Regions from separate parts of the Homo sapiens genome. Here regions 1, 2, 3, 4, 5 and 7 are each linked to region 6. Evidence: promoter capture Hi-C in 16 types of primary human blood cells and fetal thymus (Javierre and others, 2016). All regions are on one chromosome and are shown on one strand. The core of a region is centred on a gene start or on the middle of the fragment in contact, and the rest is flanking DNA. Distances in the headings are between cores, read along the strand shown. Region 1 has its middle 7.0 kb from the start of HSPA12A. Region 2 overlaps LOC105378498 (a long non-coding RNA gene). Region 3 overlaps HSPA12A (heat shock protein family A (Hsp70) member 12A). Region 4 has its middle 8.2 kb from the start of MIR9851. Region 5 has its middle 31 kb from the start of MIR9851. Region 6 holds the start of KCNK18 (potassium two pore domain channel subfamily K member 18). Region 7 has its middle 12 kb from the start of MIR9851.

What was found. Contacts are between HindIII fragments. The CHiCAGO score rates a contact against its expected background, and 5 or more counts as called.
Region 1: a fragment that was not itself captured here is called in contact with the fragment with the promoter of KCNK18 in region 6 in 1 of 17 cell types (M0 macrophages); the score reaches 5.1 in M0 macrophages.
Region 2: a contact is called between a fragment that was not itself captured here and the fragment with the promoter of KCNK18 in region 6, in 2 of 17 cell types (M0 macrophages and monocytes). The highest score is 5.5, in M0 macrophages.
Region 3: a contact is called between a fragment that was not itself captured here and the fragment with the promoter of KCNK18 in region 6, in 1 of 17 cell types (endothelial precursors). The highest score is 5.2, in endothelial precursors.
Region 4: a contact is called between a fragment that was not itself captured here and the fragment with the promoter of KCNK18 in region 6, in 1 of 17 cell types (M2 macrophages). The highest score is 5.3, in M2 macrophages.
Region 5: a contact is called between a fragment that was not itself captured here and the fragment with the promoter of KCNK18 in region 6, in 4 of 17 cell types (M1 macrophages, M0 macrophages, M2 macrophages and 1 more). The highest score is 8.1, in M1 macrophages.
Region 7: a fragment that was not itself captured here is called in contact with the fragment with the promoter of KCNK18 in region 6 in 5 of 17 cell types (M0 macrophages, naive CD4 T cells, monocytes and 2 more); the score reaches 6.6 in M0 macrophages.

What each region holds. Positions count from the first base shown.
Region 1 is chr10:116,748,097-116,750,953 of GRCh38, reverse strand. It overlaps a transcript of HSPA12A not described here and the pseudogene RPL5P27. Among named protein-coding and RNA genes, the nearest start is that of HSPA12A, 7.0 kb to the right of the region's middle. The HindIII fragment of the contact is 5,073 bases long and covers 1-2,857 here.
Region 2 is chr10:116,766,512-116,769,401 of GRCh38, reverse strand. It overlaps LOC105378498 (a long non-coding RNA gene), which reads left to right. Exons shown (of 3, transcript XR_946339.2): 3 at 1-597. It also overlaps a transcript of HSPA12A not described here. Among named protein-coding and RNA genes, the nearest start is that of HSPA12A, 25 kb to the right of the region's middle. RefSeq lists an enhancer at 2,018-2,583. The HindIII fragment of the contact is 8,201 bases long and covers 1-2,890 here.
Region 3 is chr10:116,714,735-116,717,799 of GRCh38, reverse strand. The region is part of intron 1 of HSPA12A (heat shock protein family A (Hsp70) member 12A); the gene reads left to right. Among named protein-coding and RNA genes, the nearest start is that of HSPA12A, 26 kb to the left of the region's middle. The HindIII fragment of the contact is 1,106 bases long and covers 841-1,946 here.
Region 4 is chr10:116,834,272-116,837,333 of GRCh38, reverse strand. It overlaps a transcript of HSPA12A not described here. Among named protein-coding and RNA genes, the nearest start is that of MIR9851, 8.2 kb to the right of the region's middle. RefSeq lists a silencer at 922-1,216 and enhancers at 922-1,216, 763-1,398. The HindIII fragment of the contact is 9,058 bases long and covers 1-3,062 here.
Region 5 is chr10:116,794,892-116,797,808 of GRCh38, reverse strand. It overlaps a transcript of HSPA12A not described here. Among named protein-coding and RNA genes, the nearest start is that of MIR9851, 31 kb to the left of the region's middle. The HindIII fragment of the contact is 8,639 bases long and covers 1-2,917 here.
Region 6 is chr10:117,196,049-117,198,912 of GRCh38, reverse strand. It overlaps KCNK18 (potassium two pore domain channel subfamily K member 18), which reads right to left and starts at 1,424. Exons shown (of 3, transcript NM_181840.1): 1 at 1,202-1,424. The coding sequence starts at 1,424. It also overlaps the pseudogene RPL12P26. The HindIII fragment of the contact is 2,593 bases long and covers 557-2,864 here.
Region 7 is chr10:116,814,607-116,817,484 of GRCh38, reverse strand. It overlaps a transcript of HSPA12A not described here. Among named protein-coding and RNA genes, the nearest start is that of MIR9851, 12 kb to the left of the region's middle. The HindIII fragment of the contact is 776 bases long and covers 890-1,665 here.

The DNA.
Region 1 (2,857 bases), core at 329-2,828, 450 kb after region 6:
TCACTCAAGTTGGAGTGCAGTGGTACGATCTCAGCTCACTGCAACCTCGACCTCCGAGGCTAAAGCGATCCTCCCACCTCAGCCTCTCAAGTAGCTGGGATGACAGGCACACACCACCATGCTTAGCTAATTTTTAGTTTCTGTAGAGACGAGGTCTCCCTATGTTGCCCAGCCTGGTCTCAAACTCCTGGGCTCAAGCAATCCTCCCGCTTGGCCTCCCAGAGTGCTGGGATTACAGGTGTGAGCCACGGAGCCCGGCCCCTCTCTTTATTTAAACTTCTTTCTTGGGTTTCTTCCCATAGACTGTATTCTGTTGCATAGCAGCGTTACTCTCTTCTACACCTCCTCCATGCCTGGAGTTATGCTGTTTTTTTATGTATTGAGAGGACTGTTTTTTGTAAGCATCTTCATCTTCTTCTGTTAGGAAATGCGTATAATCCACGACATTCTGACTGATGATGTGCTTTCGATGCACTTCTGCATTAAATTCCTTGTTTTCAAAATCATAACCAGGGAATCATTGGGTACCATGAGGGGTAGACAAGCCTCCATCTGTGCTCCCTTCAAGGCCCCCCAAGACTTTATTGCCAGAAGTAGTTTTGGCAAGGCCTGCATCCAAATAGCAGGTGAAGGCACCAGGCTGACCATAAGTGCTTTCTACATTGTATTCATCACCAGTCACCTCCACTTGGCCTTCATAGATCTTGCCCATGCCAGACCTATTGAGAAGCCTGCAGGCCAGCAGCAGGCCAGGACAATGTGCCGCAGCATAATTTGTCAGGCCAACCTTCACACCATGTTTTGGTAGCTCATGAGCATAAGGTACACACATTATCATATCCCCTTCCATACAGGCATAAGCAATGTGACAAACACTCTCTGTGTTAGTTATGTGAGCGATCATCCTGTATTTGGGCATGTTGTACTTATTTTTATCCTGTATTGCCAAGCATTTCCAAGCACAGTAATCCATTTTACCCTCTTGTCTTCTAAATTTCACTTTGTATCTCTTAAAGCAGGCCTTATTCTTGACAACTTTAACAAACCCTGTCCTGCAGAACAGAGACCTGCATCCTTCGCTAGACATAGAGCCCACAACTTTTAAATAAAGCACAAGATCTGAAAGAAACAAAATAGCCTAAAGCAGCCCATGGAGAATCCACCTCCAGGCAAGGTTGCTCCTGGTCTCACTGGACCTTTGGTTTTCTCATCTTAAAAAACTCGGGAATAGTGATGTTTCCCCCTCAGTGCCGCTACATGAGTCAAGCGAGAGGAGAGATATAAGGGTGCTTTGTGAACTGTAATTCTGTCTTCTAATTTGATAATTTGTTCATTCATTCAACACGTTTCTTGAGGCCCTGCCATGTGCCAGGTGCTGCGCTAGGAGCTGGGGACATTGCTGCACACAGATGAAGGCATGACAGACAAACGTGTTCTTGAGCTCAGAATGCCGTGGGGCAAATTCTTCCTCTGCCACTTTCTTCTTAGGTCACAACAGCTGAGTACCTGATCTCCGGGCCTCAGTTTCCTTACCTGTAAAATGGGGGACATTAACAATATAGTTCTCTCATCTACACGGTCATGAAGATAAATGGGGCAATGGATGTGAGGTTCCCAGAGCAATGCCCAGCACATAGCAGGTGCTTGATAAATGTTCATTCTCACCACTGCTGGTAGGAAGAGCCCAGCAAGTGAGGAAGGCTCACCATAAACAGATTTGCAAAATGACTTTAAAGCCATTTAAAGTCATTCGGCACTGGGCTATGGGCTGGAGAAGGGGAAAGTCATTTTTCTCTATAACGTGAAACCCTTGGCTCTTATAAAAGTGCCGTGGAGAAATGGGGTGGCATAATATATGGAACCATAGGTTGGGTGGGGAGGGTCCTTCTCAGGAGCTGCCCTTCAAGGTGAATCAGTGGGATGACACAAGGTAGGAAAGCAGACAGCAGGGGGTGAGGAAGGGAGAGGAGCTGGGTCTGCTCTGCAGATGAGGAGACTGAGGCCCAGGGACAAGTGACTGGTCCCAGCTCCCACAGGGCTGCCACCAGGAACCCAGTGATATGGTTTGGCTGTGTCCCCGCCCAAATCTCATCTTGAATTATAGCTCCCACAATTCCCACATGTCTTGGGAGGGACCTAGTGGGAGGTAATTGGATCAGGAGGGCAGCTCTTTCCCATGCTGTTCTTGTGTAGTGAATATGTCTCATGAAATCTGATGGTTTTATAAAGAGGAGTTCCCTTGCACAAGCTCTCTCTCTTTGCCCACCGCCATCCATGTAAGATGTGACTTGCTCCTTCTTACTGTCTGCCATGATTGTGAAGCCTCCCCAGCCATGTGGAACTGTGAGTCCATCAAACCTCTTTTTCTTCCCAGTCTCAGGCATGTCTTTGTCAGCAGTGTGAAAATGGACTAACACATCCAGTGACCCAAAGATAGACAATATTTGGGCTCACTCTTGCAGAAGTCACTGAGAAAAGTGCTGGTTTCCCTGAGAAGAGTAGCAATGAGGATGGTGACTTAGTGTGCATTCCTAACTCTGGGGTTTTTGGAGACTTGTGCAAGCATTGCTCTTGGACACTGCTGTTGAAGCTCTCAGCCCTCTGGCTCAGATAACACCCTTATTCTAGGTCATTGGTCTCCTTCTCCTCAGCTGTATGCTGCCTGTACCTCTCCTCCAGGCAAATACTGTGACCATGGGCTTGCTACCAGGAAGAACACAACTGTGCAGACATGCCCCAGTGAGTCATCACCAAGTAATCACAGCTAGCACAAGCTATCTTCCACTTTGTATTTTGCAGAAGAGGCCAACAAGGGTCAAGGGTTAAGCTGGGCTGGGAGTCAGGGGGCTGAGTTTGA
Region 2 (2,890 bases), core at 236-2,735, 430 kb after region 6:
GCCAACCCCACTGCTTGGCAGCTGGGTGCTTGACTTTCTCTAAGCCTTTGTTTCCTTGGCTGGAATGAGGGTCTGGTGATGACACCATAGCAAGGGGTGGGGAAAGCATTCCTTAAGAAGACCCCACCAAGCCCACACCTTAGTCTTGTCTGATTGCTAAGAGGGGGCTCTCTAGGTCCAGCATAGAGTCCAAGTGACCTCACAGGAAGGTTTGTGGCTGGAGGAAGGGGAGGTCAAGTGATGATTGGTCAGTCAGAAGATCCTAGTGGTGGCTGGGCCAGGGGACTTCTAAGGACAGAGGTATTGAATGGTCCGATGTTTGTGTCTCACTGTGCTGTGCTGGATGTCACTTTCCACACCTGCTTTGAAAGTCTGCAGCGGGCAAGAATCACAACGTCCAGTCCTACAGGTCAGGCCAGTGTGGATGAGAGAGTGTGCTCACAGGAAGCAGAGGGTGACACACAGCAGGGCAGTCCCAGGAAGCAGAGACTTGGAGTTAAAGATAACTCAGAGGAACAAGCTGGCCCTGCAATAGGGGGCTGTGCTAAGGCCAAAGTCAGGGTGATGTCAGCAGGCTGCTTTAAAAAAAAATAATTGAGCCGGGCTAAGTGGCTCACACCTGTAATCCCAGCACTTAGGGAGGCTGAGGTGGGAGGATGACTTGAGGCCAGCAGTTCAAGACCAGTCTCTGCAACATAGTGAGACTGCCCCCAACTCTACAAAAATAAAAGAATTAGCCAGGCTCCTGTAGTCCCAGCTACTCAAGAAGCTGAGACAGGAGGTTCACTTGAGCCCAGGAGTTCGAGGTTGCAGTGAGCCATGATTGCACCACTCCTCTCCAGCCGGGAGTGGAGGCTATATATTTATTCTGAGACAGGGTCAAATAAATTGAGACATTTACATAACATAAAATTTACCATTTTAAAGTGTACAAGTCAGTGGGTTTTGGATATTCACTGTGTTGTGCAAGCATCACCATTGTCTAATTCAGAACATTTTCATCACCCCAAAGAGAAACCCTGTACCTATTAGCAGTTGCTCCTATTCCCCCTCCCCACAGCCCCTGGCAAGCACTAATCTGCTTTCTGTCTCTATGGATTTGCCTACTCCAGGCATTTCATATAAATGGAATCAAACAGTATGTGGTCTTTTGCATCTGGCTTCTTTCACTTAGCGTAATGTTTTCAAGGTTCATTCATGTCGTAGCATATATCAGTACTCTATTCTTTTTTATGGCTGAATAATGTTCTACTGTATGGAGAGAACACATTTGATCCATTCACCCGTGGATGGATGCTTGGGTTGTTTCTACTTTTTGGCTGTTGTGAACAGTGCTGCTGTGAACACTTGTGTCCACGTTACTGTGTAAACTTAGATTTTTGGTTCTCTTGGATATATACCTAGGAGTGGACTTGGGGGGCCATTTGATAATTCTATGTTTAACTTTTTGAGGAACTGCCAAACTTTTTAAGGCTGTTTTTGTAGCCCTGCCTCTGAGATACTGGGGGTACACGTGATTAGAAGAGGTAGTTACTCCCTTTTGAAAGAGGCTGCAATTAGGGAACATAGTGCCGAGAGACAGAGTTCACAGAGCCCTTGGTAAATTAGCCCAGATGGCATCATGCTGTCATGAAGCCACACACGGCATCAGAAGCAAAGGGGTCTCTTGCCTGGGATTTTGGTTAAAGCCCCCTTGTGGCCTGGACTTCTGAGTCTGGGTTCTGAGCCAAAGAGGCTTAAAGCACTGGTGATGGTGCAGAGTTAACCAACAACCTCCCCTCCCTTGTTTTGGATTTCTGTGGACAAATTAAAAACTCACTGTGCCCCACCCAGTCTGTTTGCAGCAGGAATGTGGGGCTGGCCTTGCTGGCTGAGGCTAGTGGGAGCAGAGAAGGGAGGGGCCGGGAGATAATGTTGGGGAGGCTCCCGAGGCCCCAGGGCCAAGCCTCCACCCAGCAGCTGGGGTGGATGACCCTCTCCTGTCTGCTCTGCCTTAGCTCTGCAGGGACAGTGCTGCTTGTCTGCACCGTCACTGGTGGGGGAGGGGTGCAGGATGGGAGGAAGGGGGATGAACACAGTGCCTGAGCCAAGGAGAATAAATCAGTGGATGAGCCTTCTTCCAGGCAGCCCTCTGGCCTCTTCCAGTCTCCGTGGCCCAGGCTCTTGTCCTCTGGTTGCCTCTTTGCTGCCTCTTTTCAGGACCTCGTTCCCCAGGGCCACTGTTTCCTCCAGGCCAATGAGGAGAGGAGACACTGTGAAGCAGACTCATCAGGAACCTGCTAGAACCAGATCAGGTGCCCCCGCTCTAGCCCCCAGAGGCCTGCAGCCCTCCACTCCCCACCCTAGCCCATCTCAGGGTCATGAACTGCAGGGGCAGACCCCAGCAGGCGTTCCCTCCTCAGTTCCCTGGGGACTGCGTCTCCACTTCCCCTCCGCGATGGGCTTGGCTGTCAGCCTGATGGATCTTTTTGGGGTCGACTGGTGGACGCAAACCCAGCAGTTCCCTGGGGGCCCTACGGGTGCCAGTGTGAGCTTTTTCTTTTTAAGTTCCTAGCATTTTATTTAAAGGAAATGTCTCAACAAAATTGTTAGTTATTAAATGATGCGGCCAGAGTAGGTAAAAGATTATTTGAACCAAAGATGAGTGAATGGCATTCCTTACTCCTAGCAAGAGTGAGTTTGAAGAGAAACATGATTAAAAGAATGGGATTCCCATGAGCCATGCCAAGCTGATTGAATTGTGGGGAGGAAATGACAATCTGGGTTAATTTTTAATGTCATTTCCAGGCAGTTAAAACCACTGAGGGAGCAATGAACTTTCTTCTGAATGCCTCCAAGAAGGGGACCAGGCAGTCTCTGTGAGGGCTGTGGGGCAGCTTTGTCTGAAGAT
Region 3 (3,065 bases), core at 144-2,643, 480 kb after region 6:
GAAGCAAAACGTAAAGGAAATGTATTTGCTGACATTATGCAAAGGTGGGGGCTCTGCTTGTGTCATTGTGTAAGCACACGGTCGTTTTTTCAGCAGCAGTTGGAACGATTTTATAATGATGATGGTAACAATAATAATAAACAAAATAACATCCATAATGTATCGGGTGCTTGCCATGAGCCAGATTTTACAGATATAGATGCCCACCCAGTGGCATGCATCTAGGACGTGGTCATGGTGGGATTTGAGCTCAGGCTTTCCCGACTTTGAACTAGTACCTCTAACATCTCTCTTACCAATATGTGCCTCTCCTACCTGGATCTTCGGATTTGAGAGAGAATTATGGTTTTCGAAATAGAGCTTTGCAGACCAAAGAATACGCCACACAGTCTCATGAGCCTGCAGACAGAGACAGCCAGGAGCTGCCCTGTGATGGTGACTCCTGACTTCCTCCAGCTATTTGCTCGTCTGTGAAATGGGGATTTACATTCACACCTGTCTCGTAGTTAGAGATGATGCCTTAGTGGCACTGGGAACGTGCAGGTGTGCAGGCTTGGAGTCAGAGAGCTCTGAGTCTGCCTGGGTGGCATCCTGACTAAGGATGCGGGCTTCTTTCTTACCCTTCTAGGCTTCATTTTGTCACCTACAGAATGGGAATAATGATAGTAATTCACAGCAACCTTCCTTACAGGGCAGGTCCCCATGAGATACACCTGTAAGGCTCTTAGCTTGCATGAAATACACATGCAGTGAGTGCTGACTATGATAGGTTTCCCAATAGAGTGCTGGGTTTGTATATTTCTAGTGGTTTTGAATTAATAATTTGAGTTTGAATAAGCTTGCAAAAGAGCCTAAAAGTAAACAAAAAAACGCATGAATATCTGACCCCATGAAGGAATTTGGAAAATGGTGGGTGGAGGGTGGTGTTTATTTCAGAGTTTCACTGGTCCTGTGTTCATTGATAACAGAGTGACGGGGGCCCTGAGAATACCAATTCTCACTTCATGGAGGGAGAAGGGGGCACAGAGGGAGGTGAGGCAGTGTCCCCAGGCTCACAAACATCCACACCTCCACTCTCTTCATCCTCCTCAGGAGCTGTTTTGTTTTTCTTCTGTTCCTCTAAGAGCAGCAGCCGAAGAGCCAACTCTGGCTTTGCTCCTATTCCAAAGCCGTCCTGATTCTAGGAGACATGCCCCTTGGCCTGCAGCCCACGTATGACTGCTTGGCCTGCCACCTCCACTCATCCCAATGCTAAGGCCAACCTGGGGCCTGAGCAGAAAACCCAGTGCCCTTGTCCCCAACAGGAGCACATGCATGCACACACACACATACACACCCCCCACCCCACCCCCCAACACACACCTGCCTTTCGGGAGGACTCAGAGCTTGTACAAAGGGTCACAGGGTGGCATCTAACATCAGCATTTCAGCTCACCATTCCTGTCTGGGGTGAGAACCACAGGAAGATGCCAAGGCTGTTACATCTTGCCCCTCCCATATGGCATTGGGATCTCAGCAAGTCTGAAGGACAAAGCAAAATGGGCATGTCAGGGTCCTTTAAGTGATCCTGCCTCTCTGCAGGGGCATACCCTACTGTTTCTCAGACATGGAGGGGCCCAGCAGGGGATGGAGGATACCCCCCACCCCCACCTCCTCTGAGGCCCTGGGTTCACAGAGCGGCTACAAAGTCTAGGAGCTGTCAGCTGATGACCAGAGGGCCCTGTACCTGAGATCTGGCTGGCGCCCATCCCAGAGTGGGAGCTGCTCAGCTGGTGGCTGGACATCTGTTTTGTCATCTGCGAGGGGGCCAGTGGGTGCCTGCTGAAATTCTGACTGCTCTAAGGGCTATTTGGTCTACTGGGCCGACCAGCCTCAGCCCCAGAGAAGCCTGATGTTTGGGAGCCCTTCACCCACCCTGAGACCCAGGTCCAAAACCTTCCCAAGCTTTCAGAGTCCACATTTGTAGGTTTCAGTGAACTCGTATCCTTATTGGTTTGTTCATTCATTTGCCAAATATGTGTGGAGCACCTACCATGTATGGGCCAGGTGCTCTGATGGACAGCGGAAGAAAAACATTGACCTGCCGTCCGGGAGCTTCCATGTAACTGGCACATTCAAATCACAATTATTTTATTATGGAAAGTTTTAAACATACAAAAGCAGAGCAAATATTATACTGAAGCCTCATGAATCTGTCACCAGTTTTAGTCATTATCAACTTGTGGCCAACCTTGTTTAATCCCTGCCCCTTCCCTCTCCTGCTATTCTGGTACAAATCCCAGAAATGCTATTGTTTTGTCTGTACATTTGAGAATGTATCCCTAGAGGACAAGGGCTCTTTTAAAAATTATGTAACTGTACTATTAATAATAATCCCTTAGCATTACCAATGTCTGGTCAGCATTTACGTTTCTAATTGGCTCATAAATGTAACATTTTTGGATTGTTTGAGTTAGGATCCACTAAAGGTCCATCCACTGCATTTACTGGAGTTGATGTGTGTTTTAAGTCTCTTCTAAGCTGTCGCAGTTGGTCTCCGGGGCAGTCAGGATAGCCTGGGAAATTATCAGTGCAAATTGTCAGCCAGCCTCAGACCTACTGGATGAGAAACTCTGGGGGTGAGACCATTAATCTGTGTTTTAACAAGCCTCGGGGGTTCTGATGCACAGCAGAGCTGAGACCTTCTAGTCCATAGGTTTGCCCTCCTTTCCTGTAGATTTTCCTTGTGATTATCTTTAGGAGAAACCTGTCTCTCTTGTCGAGTTTCCCCCATCTGGGTTTTCCAGTTGATCACCAGGAACTGATGCACAAGTTCTTCTCTCATCTGCACCGGGGGAGCTGAGAAGGCTCTTCTCTCTTAAAAGAGGAGGCTGACTTTTAGAGGTGGAGGTCCCTGAAGGGTGATGCAGAATTTGCCTGCTGTAGAAGCAGGATGCACGCTAGGCAGGGGAACAGCATGTGCAGTGCCCAGAGGCTGAATCAAGCACAGATGTTCCAAGGCCTGTGGATAGGTTTGGTATGGCCAGGGATGTGGGGCAGTAGAGAGAGAAGAGACTGCAGAGGAA
Region 4 (3,062 bases), core at 259-2,758, 360 kb after region 6:
TGTCGTAAGTGGCCCTTCCCACCAACTGAATTGAAAAAGGTTTCTTTCTGATTTAGATATAAACTTACACTTTCACCTGTCGGAGGAAAATGAAACCATCACTAAGAGTTTTTTATTTTGTAGGCAGGTTCATGTCTGTGACAAAGTGATTTATCCCCAGGTAAATTACTCCTTCACATTGGTGTGGCAATGACTATTTAATAAAGCTATTTATGAAAACTCCTTAAGTGTGTGGTCCCCGTTCCCACAGTGTGTCACTGCCGCCGCCAAGTGACAGGTCTGAAAAATCAGCAAATCCTAAACAATTAAGGCATCAATTCCTCCTTCCCAAACCAAGGCCCCTGCTACCTCCTAGATAAAGATAGTGTATACTTCTGTAAGGAGAAACGAAGACCCTTCCCCAAATCACACTGGACCCTATATGGGTGTCCCTCCAAATTCATGGCCTCTCAGAGAAGAATGGCATGGGTGATGAAGAAAAGAATTTCTTTCTCTGAACGAATAGATGTAATTTTAGGGTTGAAGGAGTTTGTGTGTGTGTGTGTGTGTGTGTGTGTGTGTGTGTTCGGTTCGTTTACCACAATTCTACACTAAAATCATACCATATAGCAGGGAAGAAATTCTGTGTCTTAAAAATCCACCAGTCACACCAAAAATTTGTAACTCCAGGAACACACAAATACTTGGGGATGTATGCAAAGACTGTTCTCTTCTGCAACCTCATTCTTGAACGGGGCTAAGAGCTTTTCAATTGCTGTGACATTTTCAGCCAGGGAAGTAGTAGTTGTTGCAGAGCAATGTTTTACAGGCAATTACTTTATATGATCAATGGAGCAATTCCCCTTCCAGAAAGGAACCAAAGCGATCTAGTTAAATCATTAAAGAGAGAAAGAGAGTGGGAGAAAGGGTTCATCTCATTAGCAGGTGCCAGTGCTGCAGGCTCCATGGCGGCACACAATGTCACTGGCCCTTTAAGACAATGACTATGCTCCCTCCACCACTGCCACCCCCTCCCCTGTAGCTGTTGACAGGTCTAAACCTCCCTAGCAGCCCATTGTGGCCACAGTAGGAGGCACCTGCAGAAAATGTGCCAAAGCCAGGCAGGGAGCAAGAGCTTTTCAATAAGCTCCGCAGCTGGAGAGGAGAGGCAACACTAAACAACCAGCCTGGGCCCAGGCATGTGATGGGAAAAGGGGTCAAAAACAGACACCTCCTATGGGCTTTCTGAGCACTGTTCGGTTCAATTTGCTGACATCTTCTAGCTGGCTTTTCTCTATTTGCTTAATATGCTGAGGTATTTAGCTTAAAAGCACTAAATGCCCCATCATGATGAGCCGTTTTCTCTTTCCCCATTTACTGTTATTAAGGACATTTTCCAGCATTTTCACTCTCTTTCTGCCCCAAACTAAGATTGTTTTCTTTCGCTCCTCTCTCGTGACTACTCACAGGCATTCACCACCACACACCGCCGGCTTGATTTTACTCATCTTTAATTCAGGGATGAGTAAAGCTCTCCAAATTTAGGATCTGTGCTACCTTTATAAAGCACACACTCCTGACTGCTTTCGGCACAAGTGTGGAAGCTGAATTCTTGCATTCCAACTAGTAAACATGTATTGTGCATCTACTGTGTACCCACCAGTGTTCGTGGGGCTTCTAGAAATCCACAGGTGAACAAGATATGCTTTTCCCCTTGTACTGTTTAGGAGCCAGCAGAGGGAATGAATAGCTAATGTAACTGTGGGTTCTAGGAATTTGTTTTACACCCAGTCGCTTGTCTTTGTAATATCTACAGCCCTTTTAAGAATAAGCAGGAGTGGAGGCAGAGGACGAGGAGTACCCTGGGATGGGCTGGTGGTACATTGGCTCTGTCAAATGTGCCTTGGGGAACCAGAGGACAGAGTCTCGGCGTCATCTCTCCAAGGTAAATGGAGAAAGAACCGGGCCTCGTTCCTCAGTTTTGGCAGCTCTTGTTTCTCCACGACTCCTTACGTGCACACAACGCTTCCTGGTTTTTGTAATTTTCCATCTATTTTTTCTTTCTTGATGTAGTAAGGCATTATCTCTGTCTTGCAGATGAAAACATCTGAGACTCAGGGCTAAGCACCTTGCCCAAGGCCACACAACAAGTAGGTGGTAAGTGTACAGGCCTGCCAGGGACCCAGCTCCTCTGCGCCCACCTAAATCTTTGCTTCCCTCCTGCCGGGTGCTGCCTCTTACAAACCGTCAACCAGCACGAGTACGCGACTTAAGAGCAACATGGAAACAAATCGACATTTTCACAGTGCAACTCTTTTCCCCCCTCCTACAGATGGAGAGTGTTGGCGTGTACGGATTCTGTGGGTGTAAAGCAAAGAACAAAATGAAGTGTGATTCAAGGTGGGAAATAGCCGCTTCAGGTAGGAAATTAACTAATGTGTGTAAGTATCAAACTGGCATCTGAAATAACTGCCCCAGAACCTCATTCCTGTCGAGAGGGACTAGGTATGTTTAAAACTGGGACGTTTAAACTTCTGCACGTGTAAGATGTTTGCCAAGCCACTGCTGCAAAACCTGCTTGTTCAGAACACCAGCAAGGGGGAAGAGGTTTGAGAGAATTTCAGAGGCACCCTTGAGTCAGGAAACAAATTCGTTTCCCACCTATCCAAAGCCTAGAATCATCGCTGGCCACACTCACACGCACAGATTGTGGACCTAGCATCCGGGTAGCCTACCGGCCTCGTGCTGTCTTACTGCCCTGCTCTGGTGGCCCTGGGAGATTGGCTCTGTGAGGGCCCATACAAAGGCAGGAAGAGATGGCCTCTCGCTCTTCTGGACTTATTTTTGCCTTAACATGTCTCTCCTCTCAGAGGACTGGTCCTCTTCCTCCTTCTTCTTTGGTGCCTCCCTCCAATTCTGGAGAAAACAAGTGGACTATTCATGTAAAAAGAGAAAGACTGAGAAAGGGAGGGGGAGATGCCACCGACAAACTCCATTGAAAGCCACTGGCTGTTCATTTACATTCACACTTTTAAAACATGTTAACTAATGATGTTAAATGGTTTGCCAAAGGTCCTGGCAGG
Region 5 (2,917 bases), core at 333-2,832, 400 kb after region 6:
GTTGCACTGCCAAATGCAAGTGGTGTGTTCATGTGTTCATCCCTGCCCCTCACAGAGCCACGTACACAGCTCTCAGCAGTTGACGCCATCCTCTGGTCACCTTCCACCCTGTTGAGGGCTTTTCCCTGGAAACAGGGGCTTCTGTCCCTTCATCTACTAAACAGCTTCTTTGGTTTCTTCTACTCAACAGCTTATTTTGTTTCTTCTACTGAACAGCGTGTCAATACTGCATTTGGAGGCAGGAGACGTGGGTTCACATTCCAGCCTCCCACATACTGCTGGGTGACCTGAGCCAACACACACACTCAAACACATATGCATATACACACATGCACACACATCCACACGAACAGCCCTGTGAGGCTCCTGGAGTAAGCGGGAGCACACATTTGACAAACAATTGTAAGGAACCCAAACATCTGACTGCTGGTCCACAGGTCCTTCTGCCACCCCCTAGTCAGACTGTAAGCCCCCTGGGGTCAAGGACGATGACCCACAACCTAAGAGTCTCAAATGAGGAAGCAGCCTTCAGTGGCAGCCTGTCAGCCCCGTGCACCAGCCAATGAAGTACATAGGATCTACACAGATATGTCCCATATCTATTAGTGTCTCAGGAGCCCCTCTGTTTAGCAAATGACAAGGAACTCAGGCCACTGAGTTCTGGGGCTCCAAAGAGAAACCTGTAGCTCCCCCTGGTGGCTGCAGCAAGTGCGTGCTCTCAGCCAGCTCCTGCGGATGGGAAATGCATCACATCCTGGTGGGGTTCACTTCTGTGGGATTTCTTTGGAGGACCTCAAGAAGAGTTCCCGGGGGCAGCAATAATCATGCAGGGAAAATAAAAACGTTGCAATGGAGGGGGCCCCAAGTAACCCTGCTATACATCTTTGAAGTGGGCGGAAAAATGATATAGTGAGGGTTTGGAAATGACAGATTGCAAATTTTTCTGATGTGAAGAACCTGAAGATATCACTCTTGTCAAATCAGAAAGGTCAGTCACCCTCAGCCTGGGGCTGTCCTTGGGTTGCTTCAGAACCATGTTCCCCATCCAAGGGTGGGGCTGGGCAGAGGGGCTCAGGCTCTGGGAGGCACCCAGAGCTTTGCTCTCAAATCTCTGCCCCGGGGCTCAGCTAGGATGCTGCAGCGGCTACAGCTGGGGGTTTCCCTTTCAGTGTTAAACGCTTTTGCTGTCTTAAACGAAACTTTTGGAGAAGGGACAACTTTCTAACCTCATCAGCCCTGCACTCTGCTCCATGGTCTGGAGGAGTTTGCATTTTGTAGTTTGAGTGGGGATGGGGAGGCAGGAGCAGGCCTGGGGCAGGGACAGCGTGGGGTCCAGAGACCCAGAGCAGCAAGACCCACAGGGCAGGACAGGAAGGCTGTGGAAAGGGAGAGGGGAGCTGCAAAGACCCGAAGACCCGTTGTCTTTACTTTCCTCTTGCCTGCAGGGATTGTCACTGGTCTAGAGTTCATTTTTGGAGTCTTGGATTAGTGTTTCCCAAATTTTGATCATTCAACTATTATTATTATTATAACAGCTAACGTGAACTGAGTTCTTGGTAAGTACCAGATGCTATACAAGTAATATATTCATGAAGTATTATTTTATATTGTGTATAACTTATTTAATTTTCTTCTTTCTTTCTTTTTTTTTTTTTTTTTTTTTGATGGAGTCTTGCTCAGTCACCCAGGCTGGAGTGCAGTGGCGGGATCTTGGCTCACTGTAAGCTCCGCCTCCTGGGTTCACGTCATTCTCCTGCCTCAGCCTCCTGAGTAGCTGGGACTACAGGCACCCACCACCACGCCCGGCTAATTTTTTTTGTATTTTTAGTAGAGGCGAGGTTTCACCATGTTAGCCCGGATGATCTCGATCTCCTGACCTTGTGATCCACCCGCCTCGGCCTCCCAAAGTGCTAGGATTACAGGCATGAGCCACCGCGCCCGGCCTTTAATTTTCATAACAATGCTATGAAGCAGGAAATATTATTTCCATTTTGGAAATGAGAATTTATGTATATAATAATTTATAAATAATAATATATGATATACTTATTTAATATTTTCCTTTGAATTTCATCCTCTTACCAAGTAATTTTATTTACTATAATTTTTTTTTTTTTTTTTTTTTGAGACAGAATCTCACTGTTGCCCATGCTGGAGTGCAGTGGCACGATCTCGGCTCATTGCAACCTCTGCCTCCCGAGTTCAAGCAATTCTCCTGCCCCAGCCTCCTGAGTAGCTGGGATTACAGGCACGTTCCACCACGCCTGGCTAATTTTTGTATTTTTTTTTTTTTAGTAGCGGCAGGTTTCGCTATGTTGGCCAAGCTGGTCTCAAACTTCTAGCCTCAAGTGATCCACCCACCTTGGCCTCCCAAAGAGCTGGGATTACAGGCATGAGCCACCATGCCTGGCCTCTTACTAAGTAATTTTAAAAGGAAATTTTATTTTACTACTATAAATGTAAAACTACATTACCTGTCAAATGTAGGAAAAAGCTATTATTTAAAATCTAGTAAAATAAATATGTGCCCAAGTACACTGAAAATCATCCTCTGTACTATTGGAAGACAGCCTAGCATGTTTGGAGAAATATTGCCTTGGGAATGGAAGGGACCTTTCCTTGCAGGGTGGAAGAAGGCCATGTTGCATTTGGGGGTATGAAGGTGAACTGAGCTCTGTAGAGACCTGGTTACAGAATGTTTGGGTTTATTTTGCTTTTATTTATCCCCCTTCTAAGATGAATACTTACCTCATTAATCTTCAGCCTTTCTATTTTTATTTTTAAAATATATTCACAATTAAGGCTATAAGTTTGTCTCTGCTGCTCAAGTTACATCTTATAAGTTTTGATATAGTATATTTTCTTTTTTGATCAATTCTAATTATTTTTTAAATTCTGATTTTGATTTCTTCTTTGA
Region 6 (2,864 bases), core at 175-2,674:
TTAGAGAGCCTTGAACTTGCTGGTAGTCTAGGCCCTGCGATGGTGCAGTGTCCCTTTGGCAGCAATCTCCCAGGTCCACTGAGCAGGCTGGCGTCTGTCTGGCAAGGATGCAGGGAGTGGGACCCTCCACAGACAGGAGACTCTGCCTCCCTGGACTGGCCTCTTGTCTCTGGGAGCTGCACCTGTTCCCAAATCAAGGTCTGGGCTGTGGAAGGAGCCCCCACACCAGAGTGGGAGGGGAGGGGCTCCCTGCACCCCATTCTTCTCCTGACTTTTAGTGTCTGGTTTTCCTTTGTTTTTCATTTATCTACTCTCCCTTGTTTTATCTTGCTCTGTTGAATACAATAACAAGCTTCCTTCGAGGAACACAGCAGAGTAGAAACAAGTGACTAAATATGAAGAAAATGCAATGAGGACACTATAAAGTGACTTCTGTCTTCCAAGAGCCAGAATGTTCCTTGTCTCCTCTGCTTCTCACAGGGTCCCTGTGACCACCAAGTCTGAGATTGGGGGTCCCCTTCTCTCCCGCAGACTGAGACCCAGAGAGAACAAAGCTTTGCCTCCACGGATTGCAGAGCAAGCTGGGAGAGCAGCCAGGACAACAGCCAGGACCCCCACCCCTCCCCCCAGGTCTTCTCACAACACCTCCCCACTCCGCTGAGCCAGACAGCAGAAAAGGAGTTTGAAACAGGAAGTGGGGGCGTGGGTGGCAGGTGCTCCTGCTGGAATTTAAATCCAATTTGGGTTGTTCCCTAAATTCTCATCCCTGCAAACTGAATCCTGGGTCAGGCAGACATAGTTCTGAAAAGCAAGCTAGCCCCCCAACCCCAGCCCCAGATTTGCTCACCCATGCACCCCACCCCACCAAATTCCCAGTAATCCATCGTCCCCTGAGGCCACTGGTCTGGATGGGGCTGGGTGCTGAGGCACAGGAAGGGGAGCTGGTCTTTCCTGAGCACCTCAGGGTGCTCAGGGCCTTTCCTGCATTCTTCACAGCAACCCTGAGAGGCAGTTAGTCTCCCCACTTTTCAGAGGAGAAAACAGAGGTTCAGAAAGAAGTTACTCGCTTAAAGTGCCCAGGCATGAGGAGGATCCAGGCAGGCAGCTCCCAGACCCAGCCTCCTAGAAGGCAGCCCTCTGCTCTTGGGGGACTGCTGCCACCACGGAGAAAAGGCCCACCCTGTCCAGGTGAGGCACCTACCTGTTTCACTGCAGTTCAAGATTCTGCAGAGCTCCTCCAAGAACTTCTCAAACTCTCCATCATCTGCTGCCACCAGGACCTGGCCGTCCTCAATGGCAGAGAAGACCACAGCACCCACCAGGGCGTAGGTCACCAGAAAGCAGAGGAAGCAGAGGCCAGGGAAGAGCTTTCCCAGGGCCTCTGGGCAGCATCTCCTGGCCTGGGGGTGCCCCGAGACCTCCATCGTCCCTGAAGCATGCAGGGCAAGAGGAGCTGGTGGAAGAGGCAGGAGCATCTAAGCCCCGCCAGGAAGATGGGGTAGGAGTGCCCGGAGAACAGCCAGGCTCCAGTGCTAAGTGGATGGTGCGTGTGCTTCCCCAAGGACTCAGGAAGCAGCCGGCAACTCATCATGTTCAGTTCTTCCGAACTACTCAGATGGCGCCCTCCCTAGCACCCCAGATTGCTATTGATCCGCTGGGCCGGCCCTGGAGCTGCCTGGAAGGGGCTTTGGGAGGATAGTGTGGTTGTTGTTTTGTGCTACGTTTAATCTTTTCTATGCCCAAACTGCAGTTTTGAATTGCAGATCCCAAACCTGATCTTTGGCGTTTAGTCAAGTGATTCTTTCCTGAGAGCTGTCTGTGACACAACTTGGCTTAGGGTACCTGGTCTTCTGGACAGGTGATAATAGTAGTAACCTATAATAGTAACAGTAACCATAGTAACTAATGCGGCCAGAGCTCAATGGTTTCCAAAGGACCTTTATCCTGTGTGGATCTAATTATTGGTCCCAATTCTTCACTCCCCTGCTGCATACCCCCCCTTGCTGGGGCCTCACGGTGGGCAGAGTGTACTTCCTTGAACTTGGCTTTAGGGTAGGTCATCTCACTTGCTCCAGACAGCTGGGCATTAGCAGATGTGATGCAAGCAGGGGCTAGGCCTGTGCTTGTGCATTTGGACTTGCTTAGCTATGCCTGTGTCTGCCATGAGAAAAGGTGCCCCACCTTTCAATTTTCAGCTCAGAGTAGACCAATGTGCAACTTTCTTTGGTGGTCCTGAATCCAGGTTCATCCAACACCACCTACCTCCACCATACAGCCTAAGTTTGACCCCAACGAGATTAAAGTCTGAGATGCACCGGGAATGATGTTGGTGCCACATCTGTGCTGGCCCCTAAGATCAAACCCCTGTGTCTGTCTCCAAAACACATTGGTAATGACATCGTTAGGGCAACCGGTGATTTGAAGGATCTGAGGATTACAGTGAAACCATTCAGAACAGGCAGGCATAGATTGAGGTAGTACCTTCTGCCTCTGCCCTGATCATCAAAGCCCTCAAGGAACCTCCAGGAGACAGAAAGAAACAGAAAAACATTAAACCCAATGAAAATATCATTTGATGAGAATGTCAACATTGCCTGACAGATGCAGCTCCAATCTTTAGTTAGGGAACTCTCTGGAACAATTAAAAAGATCCCGGGGACTGCACCATCTGTGGGCTGCAATGTTGATGGTCACCACCCTCATGACATCAACAGTGGTGCAGTGGAATGCTCAGCTTGTTAAGCACAAAGGAAAATATTTCAATAAAGGATCATTTGACAACCAGTGGGGATAAAAAGTGCCTCAGATGGCAGCTGTGGAGATGCATGCAGGTTCAGATCCCTCTTCTAGAAAGGACTCGCTGT
Region 7 (2,878 bases), core at 28-2,527, 380 kb after region 6:
CCGAGCGAATAGAAGACCAGCCTGTCCCTGAACTTGACGGCATCAGGAGTAGCTCCACTAAGGTCACCGCAGAAGGCTGTGCCGAGGGTTAGCACCCAGCACAGAAGCCGGCACCTTGTTCCCTATTGTCTCTGGAATGCCATTGTTTTAATTAAGCCGACTTTGTAGCCAGGGTTCATTCACTACAGACAAAGCCTCTGTTAGAAAAAATTAGACCTCAGAAACTTCTAGAGAGCGAGGGGTGGAGGGTGGAATCACAAGCCACTGGCGGTAGAAGTTTCTGTTCTAAATCCCCGGGAAAAAAAACAGCAAATGGGTTTCTCCTTTTGTTAATTGTAACAAAAAAATAATAAATATGAAGTAAATCTGCATGGTGGGGTGGGGGAAGGGGTATAGGTTGCAAGAATGATTCTTTCTTTCTGCCTAAGAAATACAGTTTAAACAATCCAGATGATTCCAGCAAACTGTAGATTTCATGTTTCCACATTCGACAGCATAGTTGATACATAAGAAGGAAGAACGATTTGAATCGTGATGTCATGACTGGAGCTGCTGATTGTTTTAACACAGCTCAAGGATTGATTTCCCCACCAGAAAAATAAACTTAGCCTCAATCCAATACTGAGCAAAGGTGTTGTTGGAAGCGTTTTGTAACCCAGAGCATAAAAAGTCATCTTTTAAACCATAGTACCAGAAACTGGCGAGGGCTCCAGGCAATTTTAACCCTCTGGTATTTCTCATTAGGAAGACTTTTGTCACCCTGAAAAGAAGGAAAAACCCCATTTAAAAAAATCATGAGTGGCAGATTTTCAGGGAGACCACGCAGCTGCAACCATCGGAATTGGATGTCGGGGCTGTTTTACGTGAGCAGGACGGCGCCGGTTAAGCTTTCAGGAGCTGTGTGTCTCACCAGCTTAAGGTTAGGAAGTCAGGTGCGTGAGCCACATGGCGCCTTCTCTGCTCGCTCCTTCAGTGACATGATTTGGGTGCTGTGAAGTTTGGAGTTAGAGCTGCTAAAAACTCCAGGCCTCGGAGAAAAGGTGAAGAGTGCATTGATCAAACTGTAATTTGGAACATCATTGCCTGGCACATGGCCAACATTCTCTGCCCCGTATGCGGGGTGCCAGAGACCAGGCCAGGTGTCCTCTGCCTCTGGGGATGGCAGCTGAGCAGGAAGAACAATGGTTTCGGGAATGTTTTATATAGTCACTCGTCTGTCAGGGGCAAGATGATATGAATGTGGCAGAAAGAATGGCTTATTTGGAGCTGGAAGGTCAGCGATTGCTGAGTAATCAGGCTGAGTAAGCCAGTGGTCTTTGCGTGAGGGCTGAGACTCCAGTTCTGGTATGCCACTCACTCCTCTCTGCGGCCAGCATGCGAGTTCCTTTCCTTCTCCAAGCCTCAGTTTCCTCTCCCATAAGATGAGGAAGTAGCACCCACCAGAGAGGATGCGTGGGCTTTGATGGAGGTAATGCACCTGCACAGCTCAGCACAGAGTCTGGCCCAGTCAGTGCTCAGTGAGGATTTGTTCCAATCCACAGCCCGGCTCCTTCCTCTTAGGGCCGCGGGGGCCGAGAGGGAGAGCAGAAACACGAATTCCCTGGAGATACACATTTTGTCTTACAGATGCACTGCTTGGGAATACAGCCCTTCCAACAACAAGCTTTCTGTTTTTGAGCCTTGTCAACAGCACATGCCGAGCAGCAGGCAGAGTGCACTGAAAAGAAGGATTTGTGGCTGGCAGCGTTTGGTGGGGGAGTTGGAGGGAGTGGCCCGAGGGAAAATGACAGAGTCAGGGCCCTGCCATGTTATCCTAGAGAATCTACTTACCTGTATAAAACGGGGTAGCAGTTTCCTAGTTCCTTCCTGGGTTTTTTGCTTATTTGTTTATTTTACTTATTTATTTTTTTGAGACAGGGTCTCACTCTTCTGCCCAGGCTGGAGTGCAGTGACGTGATCTCGGCTCACTGCCATCTCCGTGTCCTGAGTTCAAGCAATTCTCCTGCCTCAGCCTCCTGAGTAGCTGGGGCTACGGGCACGCACCACCACACCTGGCTAATTTTTGTATTCAGAAAATTACATGTGGAAATGGGGTCTTGCCATGTTGGCCAGGCTGGTCTCAAACTCCTGGCCTCAAGTGATCTGCCTGTCTTGGCCTCCCAAAGTGTGGGATTGCAGGCATGAGTCCCTGGGCCTGGCCCTCTGTCTATTTTTTTTTTTTTTTTTTTTTTTTTTTGTCTTTTGGATCTGAGGCAGAGGATATCCACCACTCTGGGCAGATTTATAGGTGACCCAAAGTTGGAAGAGGCTGGCTGATTGATCAGCTGCTGATTTCAAAGATATCTCAGAAATAAGAAAAGAGCTGGTGCTAATTAAAAAAAAAAATGGGTAGGGATAAATGTAAAGTCGTGTACTTAGGTTCAAAAGTCAACTGTAAATAAACTGCATAACTGCAAGAAGAGGGGATGGTGTAAAAAGAGTGTAGGGTTTATCCCAGTTTACTGAAAAGATCAGACTGCCCCTTTGCTGTCTGCTCTCCATCTGATGGGTTTTAGGAAACTAAGTCTTAGCTCTGGTTGAAGGGAACTTATTCCCCCCTTTATAACGTAGGCTGTATTTTTAGAAAACAAATTTGCAACCCAATCACCCTCTCATACAGAACAGGAGAGGTATGTAACTTCCCAGCAAGGTGATGGTGGTGAAAGATGATCCCAATCTCGCAATGGTCCGTGGTACTCATTCCCAGATGTCCTTACCTGGTGGTGATTCAGCAGGTCCCAGAAATGTCCTTTCTCTTTTGGCTCTGAGCTGTCTAGTCTGGCCCAAGTCCTGGTCTGGCCTTTCCACTAGGACACAGCTGGATGAGGGGTCATCAGGA